Linked DNA regions of Homo sapiens: region 2 is linked to region 1. The links are contacts of gene promoters, found by promoter capture Hi-C in blood cells and fetal thymus (Javierre and others, 2016). All regions are on one chromosome and are shown on one strand. Each heading gives the region's core, a stretch centred on a gene start or on the middle of the fragment in contact. The rest is flanking DNA. Distances are from core to core; before and after follow the strand shown. Region 1 holds the start of FIGNL1 (fidgetin like 1). Region 2 overlaps COBL (cordon-bleu WH2 repeat protein).

Region 1 (6,525 bases), core at 372-2,871:
AGCCAGGTTTAATGCAGCTTTTATCTCCCATAATGCCTTACAAAGACATTTGTCACATTGTAAGTAGGTGTTCACAAATCTTTGTTTAAAAAACAATTAGAAAACTTAAGATCCAGAGCTTTAAAGACACTGTAATTTATTTAAAGCTGTAAAGCTAAATAAGCTAGAGTCAAAACTAGATCTGACCTCTTCTGTCAAGCAGTTCATCCTTTTTTTCACTATACCATTTTGATGTTAAACTCATTTATACAATACTAGAAATGAGAAACTGAAAGAAAGGTGACTCAGAAAACACTTGACACAAACTTTCACAATTAATATTATCATTCTCTTCCTCTCCATGGCTTCATTCCCCTTTATCATCTGTTATCCTGAAATTTCTACCATACCTCAGAGTTCTAGTCACTGTTCTCAGAATAAACCCCCTTCTCTTTTCCATCTTCACCTTTCCTTCAATATTCATCTTCCAAGTCTTACTTCTTCCTTTCAATTCAATCATTTAAATGGCAAATAAGGATAACCAAAAACTGGCCATCACCGATCAGTGACACAACCATTGTCTTGTTTACCATTTCCAAGTCAATTTAACCTTTATGGCCTTTCCTAGATCTAAAAAGTATGATTAATTAGCACTGTCATATGAACTGCATTTCAATCTTCTTTATTTTGCCAATGTTCTGATTATTTTAATAATGTCATTATCTGTCTTCCTAGACAGTTGGCTTCTGCAGGGAGGAATTGTTTTCCATTCCATTCACATTGTCTTAGTACCTAGAATACAGTGTCCTTTGGAATAATAGCTACTAAAATACTGACGGAGTGCCTACTCAGTACCAAGCACTGTGCAAGCCTTTCATAGGATTCTGTTCTTGATGCAAAACGGGAGTTAAGAGCACAGGGTCTGGAGCCAGGCTGCCTGCTTTCAAATCCTGGCTCTATCATCTGCCAGCAGTGACTGCAGGAAAATCTCTTAATGTCTTTCTGCCGGTTTTCACCTATAAAAGAAGCGCAGCAACATCACTGAGCTGACAAGGTATTTTAATTCTGCAAAGCACTAGACAGAGGACTCAGCACTTAGAAAATACTCTATAAAATACTGCTTCTTCTGATTCCTCACGATGACCCCTGAAAGGTATGAGCCCTTCTTTCTCATCACAGAGATTAAGAGCTTGCCTGGGTCACAGGGGAACTGACTGACCCCCGCTGTGGGCGCCCAGAGCCCCGCTGGGCCCAGTAAATGCCTGCGGTAAGCGGCCCCGCCCCCGGACAGGCTCTGCCAAAGGAAGCCGCCCGCAGACCTGGCCCCGAGCCTGCCGTCCACGCCGGGCCCCAGCTTCCTAATCCTGGATGAGTCTGGTTCTGGGCTAGCGGGTCAGCCACCCTCCCGCTAAGACAGAAGCAAAAGGGCACAGCCACTGCCTGGCTCCCGCCTCCCACGGCCTCCCGCGAAGTCACCGCCCCGCGACCCCCAGCATTCCAGAGGCACACGCCCGCCTCTCCCCTACGCCCCAACCCTGATGCTCCACAGGGGTCAGCAGCGCCCCTGCCCCGCCTCCCGTCACCGCATCCTACCTGCGGCTGGTGTGGGACGCTGGCAGCCTCCGAAAAGCGCGGGGACTGACGTGCGCCTGCGCGCTGCTGTCGCCCTCGGACTCGCGCCGTACGTGCGTGCGTGAGTGCGTGAGTGCGTGCGTGCGTGCGTTCGGCGCGCGGGGCGTGGGCGCGGCACCTGGGCCCGGGCACCGCCACCTAGGCCCTAGCTCCGACCAGTGGTGTTCTATAAACGCTTATTACATCATTGTGCATAGGCTTCATTTTTAAAAGTACTCCCAAATAAATACAAGGAGGCGATGGAAATTGAATGAAGATTCGAAGGATTCCCATAGAGCGTGGCTCACTTCCCCTCACCGGGACAGCGAGCGGCGGCTCACCTGGGAGAGCAAAGCGTGGCTCTCCTGCGCCCACCCGGGAGAGCAAACAATGGCTCACCTGCGCCCACCCGGGAGAGCAAGCGTGGCTCACCTGCGCCCACTCGGGAAAGCCAGCCGCCATCCTGTGCTGCAGGCAGGGAGCGGGCGGCGGGAGAGGAGCGGATCCACTTAGGTCAGCGGTTAAAACGTCGTTACAAGAGGCCACCCCGGCATCGCGGGGCCTGTGGCTGCGCCCCCTCTTGAATTCAGGCCTAGCACATCACCTCCGCCCCTCGCACCCTGCAGTCTGCGCTCCATACAGCACGTGAGCGGGTGCTCAGCAATGTTCCCTGGCTGAAAGAACCGCATAGAGTAGCATGCAAAAATGACATGCATGTTTAAGATAAAATAAGGGAGAGGACACCTGTTCTGACTGAGTCTGGCAACTCAGATCTCCCCGCAGCCAACATCTACATTCCTTTGGACAGCTGTCTGCTGTGTAGGGACACCTCCCTGGAACTTTGAAAAGCACCCCATCATTACCTTCCACTTTGTTCTGGAGCAAGGTTTCAAAAGAAGAGTGCCGTATTTTGATTAATTTAGTGAATTGGATTTTCAGACACAAGTAAGAGCATCCACTCAGTGGCCTCTGCAGTAAATAATGATATCAGATCACATAACAAGAAGACTGGAGGTTGGCGGGAAATCTGGACCTGGTGACTCAAAGAAGTCATGAAGGACCATCTCTCCATTCTGCCACCTTCTCGCCTGTGGATTTTCCTCCCCAGGCTTGTCACTTCATTGTCGAGAGATGCCCTCACAATCCAAGCCAGGCAGCCTCACATGACCAGATCTAAAACACAAAGAGGGAGCCAAACTGAGAAAGGACCTTTTCCCTCTGAACACTTCTCTCTTGGAAAAAGAAAATGTTTCCCAGAAAGCCTCATAGCCTTCCTCTTATATCTCCTTGACTAACTGGGACCCGGATCCCTGGATATCCTTTCCTGAGAAAGAGAGGGTCTGGGGCAGGGGATAGAGAAAATGACTAGCAACTAGCAGCACATGATGTTTAAACATAAGATTTAAAGAAATGCAAGGCACAAACAATTTGAAGACTTTTTTTAAGTTTTTAAAATCTTCACAAAATAAAAAGGAATTGGACAATGCACTTTAAAAACTAGAAGACGTTTCACTGAAAACAGCATCTCCTAATTCATTTCATGGCTTAGATAGTAATAGAAAATTATTTTATTCTAATTCCATACTTTATCAACTAATTTTAATTATTTTATAATTACCCAAAATATGTCATGTAGAATGAAAATAAAAGAAAATGAAAACAGTTATATCAAGGCCAAGTCAGTTGTATGTTTACTGGCTATTTAGAAATTTCTAAATACGTGTATATTTAGAAATGACTATATAGATACTATTTGGGTAATGTTAGGGATGGAAAGTTTATGTCCCCCCAAAATTTGTATGTTGAAATCCTAAGCCCAATGTGATGGTTTTAAGGGGCGGGGCCTTTGTGAGGTGATTAGGTCATGAGAGTGGAGACTTCATGGATGAGAATAGTAAGTATCCTTATAAAAGAGACTCCAGAGGCTGGGTGCAGTGTCTCATGCCTGTAATCCCAGCACTTTGGGAGGCCGAGGCAGGTGGATCGCCTGGGGTCAGGAGTTCGAGACCAGCCTGGCCAACATGGCAAAACCCTGTCTCTACTAAAAATACAAAAATTAGCCAGGTGTTGTGGTGGGCACCTGTAATCCCAGCTACTTAGGAGGCTGAGGCCTGAGAATTGCTTGAACCCAGGAGGTGGAGGTTGCAGTGAACTGAGATCGCGCCACTGCACTCCAGCCTGGGGGACGGAGTGAGACTGTCTCCAAAAAATAAAATACAATAAAAGAGACTCCAAAGAACTTTCTAGCCCTCTTGCCACCACCTAAGGATGCAAAGAGTTGACAGCAACCTGGAAGAGCCCTCACCAGAACTCGACCATTCTGGCACTCTGACTTCCAGCCTCCACTGTGAGAAATAAATTTCTATTGTTTATGAGCCACTCAGCATATGGTACTTTGTAGCCCTAGACAGGCTAAGACAGGTAATTAGCAATTTTAGGTGATTTTCATCATCAAAATTTTCATGATGGCATTTTGGAGAATTCACATAAACCACTCTGTTACCCTCCTAAAAGTATTGCTCAAATACTGAATTATATTTATGCTTGCCAAAGTTAATTTTTTTCCAACAAGTAACACTAGCCACTTCATTTTGTGCTTTTGATACAAAAGCATTTCCCAATCCAGCGGCTTTCATCTTCTGGCCTGGTTGGCAAAAGTGTAACTCACTTCTGCACCCTCTCTGAACCCTAGTCTCCTCCTCAAATGTAAAACAGTAATAAACCTTTCTTACCCAGGAAGCCATTATAAGGATTATAATCAACATAAGATATAATTCTTTAATTATCAAAGCAGTTGCTGGCATGTGGCAGGCATTCAACAGAAACCGTGTTGCTATGTTATTTTTATTGTTACCATTAATATTCCTATTGGGATTGAAACCCTTATGTCATATCAAAACTTTTCCATCTTTGACAAATGAGACATATTAGGATAGTATCTTAATAATATGTAAGAGTTTAGTGCTTGAGCTATTCAATTATTAAACTTTGCTTCCAAGACCACAGACTGGTGGTATATACTGTGTGCGTGTGTGTGTGTGTGTGTGTTTGTGTGTGTGTATGAGAAAGAATATGCTGTTCTTTTCTTCTTCTGGGTAGAAGTTGTTGAGCCTTCAAGGGAAGAGGTTTTCACCTACAGCAGACAGTGCCAGTTCTCTTGGTGTGAGGGATTCTGGGAGATGGCTGCCCATTTCCATATTCATGAATTTTATAAACATGGTCTCAGATAAATGCAAGTGTACACTTCGGTGAGCTCATTTGTTTTTGAGCAGAGGGGATAATACGGCCCTAAATAATGTGCTTCCCTGTCAGCCAGGAGAGTTACATTCTGGAGATGTGTGTGTCGGTGGGTGCGGGAGGCAGGTGGTGTTGAGGAGATAGGGAAGCCAACAGGACAAAGCTCAGAGGGAAAACAGCCCAATCTAAATCCAGTTCTTTCTCTGTGTGGATTCCCACTGACTTCCAAACCTCTCAGCTCCCTGACTCAGTGGTAAGGAAGAAAAAAGTACCAGGATTGAGGGGATGGTGTTCTAGCCCTCCAGCAGAGGAGTAAGATGTGTGAGCCCAGGGTGAAGCAAGTGCACAATTTTAGTAAAAGATTTTCATTGGCCATACTGAATGAATCATAAAGGGATGTGAAGAGGCTACCTCTGGCATCATTGTCATAAACACAGCTGGTGAGGGGGGAGGTGGTGTTCTCCTGGTGTCAAAAGACAAAATTATTTACAGATCAAATTGGCTTTTATTCATGATTCATGAATCCAGTAGCCTCCATTCTATAAAATAGAATTAGAGTTCCCACTGGGGAATGGCAGAACAGTGGTTTTGTAAGGTGGGAACAAGGAAACAGTATTATTTTAAAGGTTGATTGGTTAGTGTCAGCTTAATTCAGACTACTTTTCTCGTCATGGTTAAAGCAAATGGGACTTCCTTATTACTCTGACTCAGGCAGACTGAACTCTTTCTGATGGGTTGCTGTGACTCTTGTTTTCAAGAAAAACTGGTCTATTTGGGGACCACCAGCTTTCTTAAAGTTTCAGCTTGGTTAAATGGCACTTAGCATGAGTGACTCCACTTTAGTTTGGTCTGTTGGGACCTAGTGCAGGAGCTCACTCTAAAACAATGCCCTCCCGTAATTTTTCTATAGCACCTGAAACGGGGTAGAGCAGAGATTGAAGGAAACATTTGCTTGGGTCGTCATTTTCCTCAAGGACTGCGCTACCAATTGGAGTCAACACTTCTAGGTGCCTCCAGTTTGGTACAGTATGTAAGGGGTTGAATTGCATCCCCCAAACAGATATGTTGAAGCCCTAACCCCTGGCACCTGTGAATGTGGCCTTATTTGGAAAGAGGGTTGTTACAGCCATAATCCAGTTAAGATGAGGTCCTTCTGGATTAGGGTGGGCCCTCATCTGATTGATTGGTGTCCTTATAAAGAAAAGGAAAAGAGTCACAGAGGGAAGAAGGCCATGTGAAGATGGGGGCAGAGATTGGAGTGATGCTGTCACAAGCCAAGGAATGTCTGGGTTACCAACAGCTGGACTTTGTAGACAGCATGGCCCTGCCAACACCTCGATTTCAGTTTCTGCCTCCAGAACTGTGAGAGAACACGTTTATGTTATTTGAAGACACTGAGACTGCCGTCCATTGTTCCAGCAGCCACAGGAAACGAATGCCCTGCATTCTTACAGCACTGCGGCAGGGGTGGAGTGATTAAGAGCAGGGGCTATGGAGTCAGCTTTCCAGGGTTCAAGTCCTAGCTCCACTGCTCAGGAGCCACTACTGAGAATTGTTCAGAATCAACCCAGCTGAGGTCTGAAGATCATTTAGACCGGAGCCTCGCCCACGGTAAGCACTGCCCAGGTGCCAGGTGTTATTATGGCTGGGCTGGCCAGTTCTTCCTCTTAGGTTTCCTTGCTTAGAGTTTGGGAAGGA
Region 2 (6,525 bases), core at 2,444-4,943, 660 kb after region 1:
TCCCTCACCTCAAATACTTAACACTTTTTTTGTGATCCTAGTTTGTTTGTTTTTTTTTTTTTTTTTTTTGAGACAGAATCTCACTCTGTCACCCAGGCTGGACTGCAGTGGTGTGATCTTGGCTCACTGCAACCTCCACCTCCCAGGTTCAAGTGATTCTCCTGCCTCAGCCTCCTGAGTAGCTGGGACTACAGGCGCACGCCACCATGCCCAGCTAATATTTGTATTTTTAGTAGAGACGGGGTTTCACCATATTGGTCAGGCTGGTCTGGAACTCCTGACCTCGTGATTTGCCCACCTCCCAAAGTGCTGGGATTACAGGTGTGAGCCACCACACCCAGCCCTAGTATTTTTAAATAGAGGTTTTAACATGGAGATCTCTTCATATTTTCCAATATGTATATCCCAGTTCAGTAAATATTATACAACTACATGGTTTCATATTCCCACTTCAGTAAATATCAATATTTGTTAAGGATTAATTTTTCTGCTAAAATTGTTTTAGCTAGAAATATGTGCAGACGTTTATAATCTTTTTACTTTTTTAAAATAATGTGGGAAGATACTGCTTCTTTTAAAATTGTACACTGGTGCATGTATACAAGTTGCCAATCACCAGTACCAACATACCATGGGCAGACCTCTCACCTCTCCGTACCCGGGCTGCACTCAGGACCCAGAGAGAGCAGAACCCAAAGAGGCCCTTAGAGGCACAGGACAGGATCCACCTCACAGTCCCCTGGGGAATACAAGATGCCAAAGCAGCAGGGAATCTCCTTAATAAACAGGAAGGAAGATATGTAAATCAAGCCAAGAGATTTAATAGCATCTGCCACTTGCAGCAAAATATCCCCCAGTCCAAGAGAATGGGTGTCCTGCTAGCAGCCACCACTTCCCACTGATTCTTCCTCCTCCTGCAGTGTCATCCTTCCTGCAGCCCACCCTCTCCCTCAGCAGAAACCTGGAGTATGTCTTCAGAGGAAAAGAGAATATTCCACTGCCTACATGTTTCCATCCTGCCTGGTGCCTCTAAGTCAGATCCAGGGCTCACCCAGAGGCCACGCTTCCAGCCTCCAGCACTCCTAACTCTGTTCCTCTTCCCTGCCACTGTGGGCCAAGCTCACCAAGGATCCTCGGGCCAACATTCTGATTCCCCACCCTCTCCTGACAGCAGCCACTCTCCTGGTGGCATGAGTGGAGGCTGGCTCTGCCTGTTTTGGGGCTTTGTATCATGATATCTGGCTTCTTTTGCTCTGAGGCTCATCCGCTGCTGTGTGGCTCGTTGCTGTGCAGTGGCACTCGGTGTGAATACACCACGCTTTATGTGCTGGACTGTGGAAAGGGATTCGGTTGGGGTGAGCCTGGGGATGCTGTCAACAGTGCTGCTGTGAATACTCACGTGCATGGCTTGGTGCAACTGTTGGAGGTGCACACAGTTGGAGGTGCTTGGGTCATGGGGTGTGTGACCAGCTATTGAAGTCGCTGGCAAACAGTTTTGCAAAGTGATTGTTTAGAAATCCTTATTCTCATTCCTTCTGTTTGCTTTTCCCATCTGCAAATTCCAAACATGTATTCCCATCCTGTGGCCTCCTGGGTTACTCCACCTTCGTTCCCTTCCCTGTTAGCAGATGATCTTACCCCATAACTCAGAAAAAGTGGAGGTCCCAGGCAGGAGCCAGCTCTCAGACACTGGGCCCCATTCTCCAAAGGAAAGCTGCTTCCCCCAAACTCAGCCCTCCCTGGGGCGCTGGAGCCAGCCTTGGGGAGGTCACCCTGAGCTCTTGTATAGCTCTCCAGTACCTCCTTATCAAAGACACCTGCCTACTTCTCCCATCATGGAGCCGTCACACAAAGATACACACACTGACACATAGACACACACACACACACACACACACACACACACACACACACCCCCTGCCCCATGAAGTTTACTGAAAGAACTGGTTCCACTTCAACTTCCTTTTCCTTAGTCTCGGTCACCCCACCTTCCTTGCCACTGGCCTCCTGCCTAGTGTGGCACCTGTGTGAATGGCCCAGTGTTCTGATGGTCACATCCAAAGGTCCTGTGAGTTCCCACCAGGCAGCCTCTTCCCTCCTTGCACTATGCGAGTTTCTGCACACTCTCGGGCTGCTCCCCATCCTGGGCATGGTGCTCCGCAGGGCTGCCTCTTCTCTTCATCTCTGGTTTTCATCCATTCTTATTTCCCCAACTACCACCTACTGGTGGTCATTTTCAAACCACCTGTGTGAATGCACCACCCTGTGAGCTCCAGACAACTGCCAGTGCGGTTCCTGTAGACATTTCAGCTCCAACTGGTTCTGCATCATCATCTGCATCTGCGGACCCTTCTGGATAATCTTTAAAGGTTGGATTCTTTGCCACTTCCATCTCGCTCGCCACCTTCACTGCACTGCTCCTGAAGCACCTCAGTTCTTGCTGTGACAGTCCTAAAATCCCATCTCCCTCCTTGCCCCCCACCCCTGGCTACCCCTGCTTTTATTCAGGCCCTTTGCATTTCCTGCCTGAGTTATCTTAAATGCTTCTTCCCTCTCTGTCGTTCTGTCTCTCAGAGTCAGTTACCACTGTGCTACCAGGCTCGATCACTCATTTATTTCTCAAAAATTTTACTAAAAAAACTGACTACATGCCAGGCACTGTTCTCCACAAAGGAAGGGGAGCCTCAAAAAAGACAGCAAACTCCTTCCCTGCACTCACAGAATGTATGTCTCGTGAGGGGAAGACAGAAAGAAACCACTGCATCATGTTAGTAGTGCCACCTTCCACAGAAACGAAAGGCAGCCACATGTTTCCGTGGCTGAGGATGGAGCGCTGAGGCAGTGAAAGAAACAGGCCACCTGTGCAAAGGTACGAGGAAGAATGACACAGGCGAGAGCAAGGGGATGGAAACTGCTTGGCCTCTTCTTTTTTCTTTAAAAAAATTGATACATAATAATTGTACATATTTATGGGGTACATGTGGTATTTTGATACAAGCTTACAATGTGTAATAATCAAACCAGGGTAATTGGGATATCTTTAACCTCAAACATTTAGCATTTCTTTGTATTGTAAACATTTAAAATCTTTTCTATTTCAAACTATACAATAGTTATTGTTAACAATAGTCATCCGACTATGCTACCAAACACTAGAACTTATTCCTTCGACCTAATTGAACTTTTATATCCATTAAGCATTCCCTCTTCCTCCCTCTCCCCTCCACCCTGCGCAGCCTCTGGTAACCACCAATCTACTCTCTACCTTCATGAGATCCACTTTTTTAGCTCCCACGTAAGAGTGAGAACCTGCATTATTTCTCCTTCTGTGCCTGGTTTATTTCACTTAATATAATGGCCTCCAGTTCCATCCATGTCGCTGTAAATGACAGGATTTCATTTTTTCCTTTATAGCAGAATAGTACTCTATTGTGTATATATACCACATCTTCTCTAACCATTCATCCGCTGACGGACACTTAGGTTGATTCCATATCTTTATTTTATTTTTCAATAAGTTATCGGGGTACAGGTGGTATTTGGTTACATAAGTTCTTCAGTTGTGATCTGTGAGGTTTTGGTACACCCATCACCCAAGCGGTATATACTGCACCATATTTGTTGTCTTTTATCCCTTAACCAACCTTCCACTCTTGCCCACAAGTCCCCAAAGTCCACTGTATCATTCTTATGCCTTTGTGTCCTCATAGCTTAGCTCCCACATATCAGTGAGAACATACGATGTTTGGTTTTCCATTCCTGAGTTACTTCACTTACAATCATAGTCTCCAATCTCATCCAGGTCACTGCAAATGCTGTTAATTTATTCCTTTTTATGACTGCATAGTATTCCATCATATGTATATAGCACAGTTTCTTTATCCACTCATTGATCGATGGGCATTTGGGTTGGTTCCACGATTTTGCAATTGTGAATTGTGCTGCTATAAACATGCGTGTGCAAGTATCTTTTTCGAATAATGACTTCTTTTCCTCTGGGTAGATGCCCAGTAGTGGGATTGCTGGATCAAATGGTAGTTCTACTTTTAGTTCTTTAAGGTGATACCATATCTTGACTACTGTGAATAATGCTGCAATAAACATGGGGGTGCAGACATCTCTTCAACATACTAATTTCATTTCTTTTGGATAAATACCTAGTGGTGGGATTGCTGCATCATTTAGGTTTTTGAGGAACCCCCATACTATTTTTCATAATGGCTATACTAACTTACATTCCCACCAAGAGTGCATAAGCATCCCCTTTCTCCATATCCTTGCCAGCATTTGCTTTTTCTCTCTTTGATAACAAGCCCTTCTAACTTGGCCTTTTACATACTACAAGAGGAACAGATGGGAGGCCAGTATGGCATTATTGGCATTGGAAAGAAGCTTGGTTTGTATTCACTGTCACTAGCTGCATAATTGTAAGCAGGATCCTACTCAAATGGTGTGTGCAGTGTGGCATCCTGCTCTTCCAGTGGCCCTGATTCTCCCCGCCGGCCCCACCTCAGCCTCAGCACGGAGTGTCCTCTCTCGCTGAACTGTCCTGTCCTCACGACCCATCCATCCTTCAAGGCCCATCTCAATACTACATGTCACAGAAAAGAAACAGCTGCCTCTCCCCCGTGCCTGGGCCCCTGCATGCTCCTTGACTTCATGGTAACATCTGTGTATCTTCTTAGACGGGGCCTCCTCAATACCAGGAGGAGCTGTATCCATCTGTGCTGCTCAGCACTGTGCAGTGCCAGCCAGGGCATGTGATGGGCCCCAGCAAGTGTTCACAACTAGGAGATTAAATGAGTGCATTTCTGAATGGCAAGACTGGGCAGAAAGGGCCTGTGTACATAATGCGATTTATTTATTTTACTCTCTTAACACTTACTTCACAGGGACATATGGTAAAGTGTGTTCCTAGGAAGAGGTGAAGATTAGGTAATATCCTCATCAATATCATCAAAGGAATCCAGTTCACTTGCATGGCACGGGGACCACTAAGAACAAGTCCAGGCAATTTTCAGGTGGATGTCTATTTCTATTTTTACTAAAGACTCCCACACACATAACAGTCAACTGTACAAGGCTTGGAAACAATTTAATGGTTGCAAAAGCATAAGAGAGGAGAAACTAGAATGCCATGAAGTGGGATTACAAAGTAGATTCTGTACATAGAGTAAGTATCTTTGCTATACATCAGCATTTCTATTCCAATTCATCACTGATGGAAATTGTATTGCTCTCCTCAGTGTCCTGTGGATTATTTTTATTTTTTGCCCTAAAGAAACATTGGAAGCAAAGGACCACAGAGAACTTCTAAGATATGGACCATTTAAAAATATATAGTTTATGATTAATATGTAACTTAAAAACTACTTATTAACACAATGTTACCTCCAGAAGCAAGCAGTGCTTCATGATCAATGAGCACTGTTTCCTTTCTAAGCTCCCATTCATGTTGGGGTGTCCCTGCAGATGCATAGGTTACAATATTCACTTCTGCACACAGATCTTTCAGGGAGTTTCTACAGATCTCTTTCCTGAGCACCAGTATTTGACTAATAGCTGAAATCCTCCCCTCATTTAGGCCTTGCATGGGGTCGGCTGTCCTTTGCACCTTTGGGTCTCATCAGAAGTAAAACTAGTCTGGCCTTGCTTTGCAGTCCACAGAGGAGGGGCCCTTGGGGTCCTTGCATAAGAATGCTGGTGCCTAGGGCTTAGGTCAACGCTGCAGGCAGGAAGGCACAATCAGGTTTCTCATTAGCTTCAGTTGCCCCATCTAGATCTGTTTTGAACATAATAATTGTGCTCTTGATGCCAACAGCTTCAGACACTTCTTAGACAAGCATACTCAAGTATCATCTTCTTCCCATATGTGGCAACCACAAACAAAATATAAAAACTCCTACAACCGAAAATAAATTTATTAATGGTGATGTGCTCCCATAAGACGTGGAAGCTGCAGACATCTTAACCTTCCGGAAATGATAAAAATCCTTTGGCACAGGTCTAGGGTGTGAAATGCACTCCCTCTGCACAGTAACATCTCTTGGAGAGGTACTGGTCCCACACATCCAGGGAATAGACTTCCACCCAGGATGACAGCTCATTTGGAGCATCTATGCTTCATCACAAGTTTCTAGCAGGATTCTGGCAATATTCTTAAGAGAATGGCAAAAGCAGATGTGTCAAGTGCAAAGGTGCAAAGTACTACTCAGAATATATGAAGGAAATAAAATACAAACCACATAAATAAGGAAGACTTACCAGGCTTACTGTTCTATCAACTGTTAGAACTGTATAATGAAAAGTAAAAGCTTTTATGAGCTACCATGGCTATTGTTTATAAAGTGTCCATTAAGAAATCTGACTCTTCATTTTGTCTAATCTCTCTCCAATAATATTCTATCCTCTCTTAAAAAACATTGTTAAGAAAGTTTTTAGTCACTGGAAGCTTTTACTGTCACTCAATTCCACGGCTTAAAATTACTAAAGTGGTTCCTTAACATTTATTCCTTGGCAAATGTA

What was found. The method cuts DNA at HindIII sites, captures the fragments that hold promoters and counts their contacts. A CHiCAGO score of 5 or more calls a contact.
Region 2: a contact is called between a fragment that was not itself captured here and the fragment with the promoter of FIGNL1 in region 1, in 1 of 17 cell types (M0 macrophages). The highest score is 5.5, in M0 macrophages.

The regions. Positions count from the first base shown.
Region 1 is chr7:50,448,729-50,455,253 of GRCh38, forward strand. It overlaps FIGNL1 (fidgetin like 1), which reads right to left and starts at 1,622. Exons shown (of 4, transcript NM_001287492.4): 1 at 1,573-1,622; 2 at 390-995. RefSeq lists silencers at 1,143-1,437, 1,579-1,768. The HindIII fragment of the contact is 8,767 bases long and covers 1-6,525 here.
Region 2 is chr7:51,107,044-51,113,568 of GRCh38, forward strand. All of the region lies in intron 6 of COBL (cordon-bleu WH2 repeat protein), which reads right to left. Among named protein-coding and RNA genes, the nearest start is that of COBL, 210 kb to the right of the region's middle. RefSeq lists an enhancer at 4,161-4,662. The HindIII fragment of the contact is 1,394 bases long and covers 2,997-4,390 here.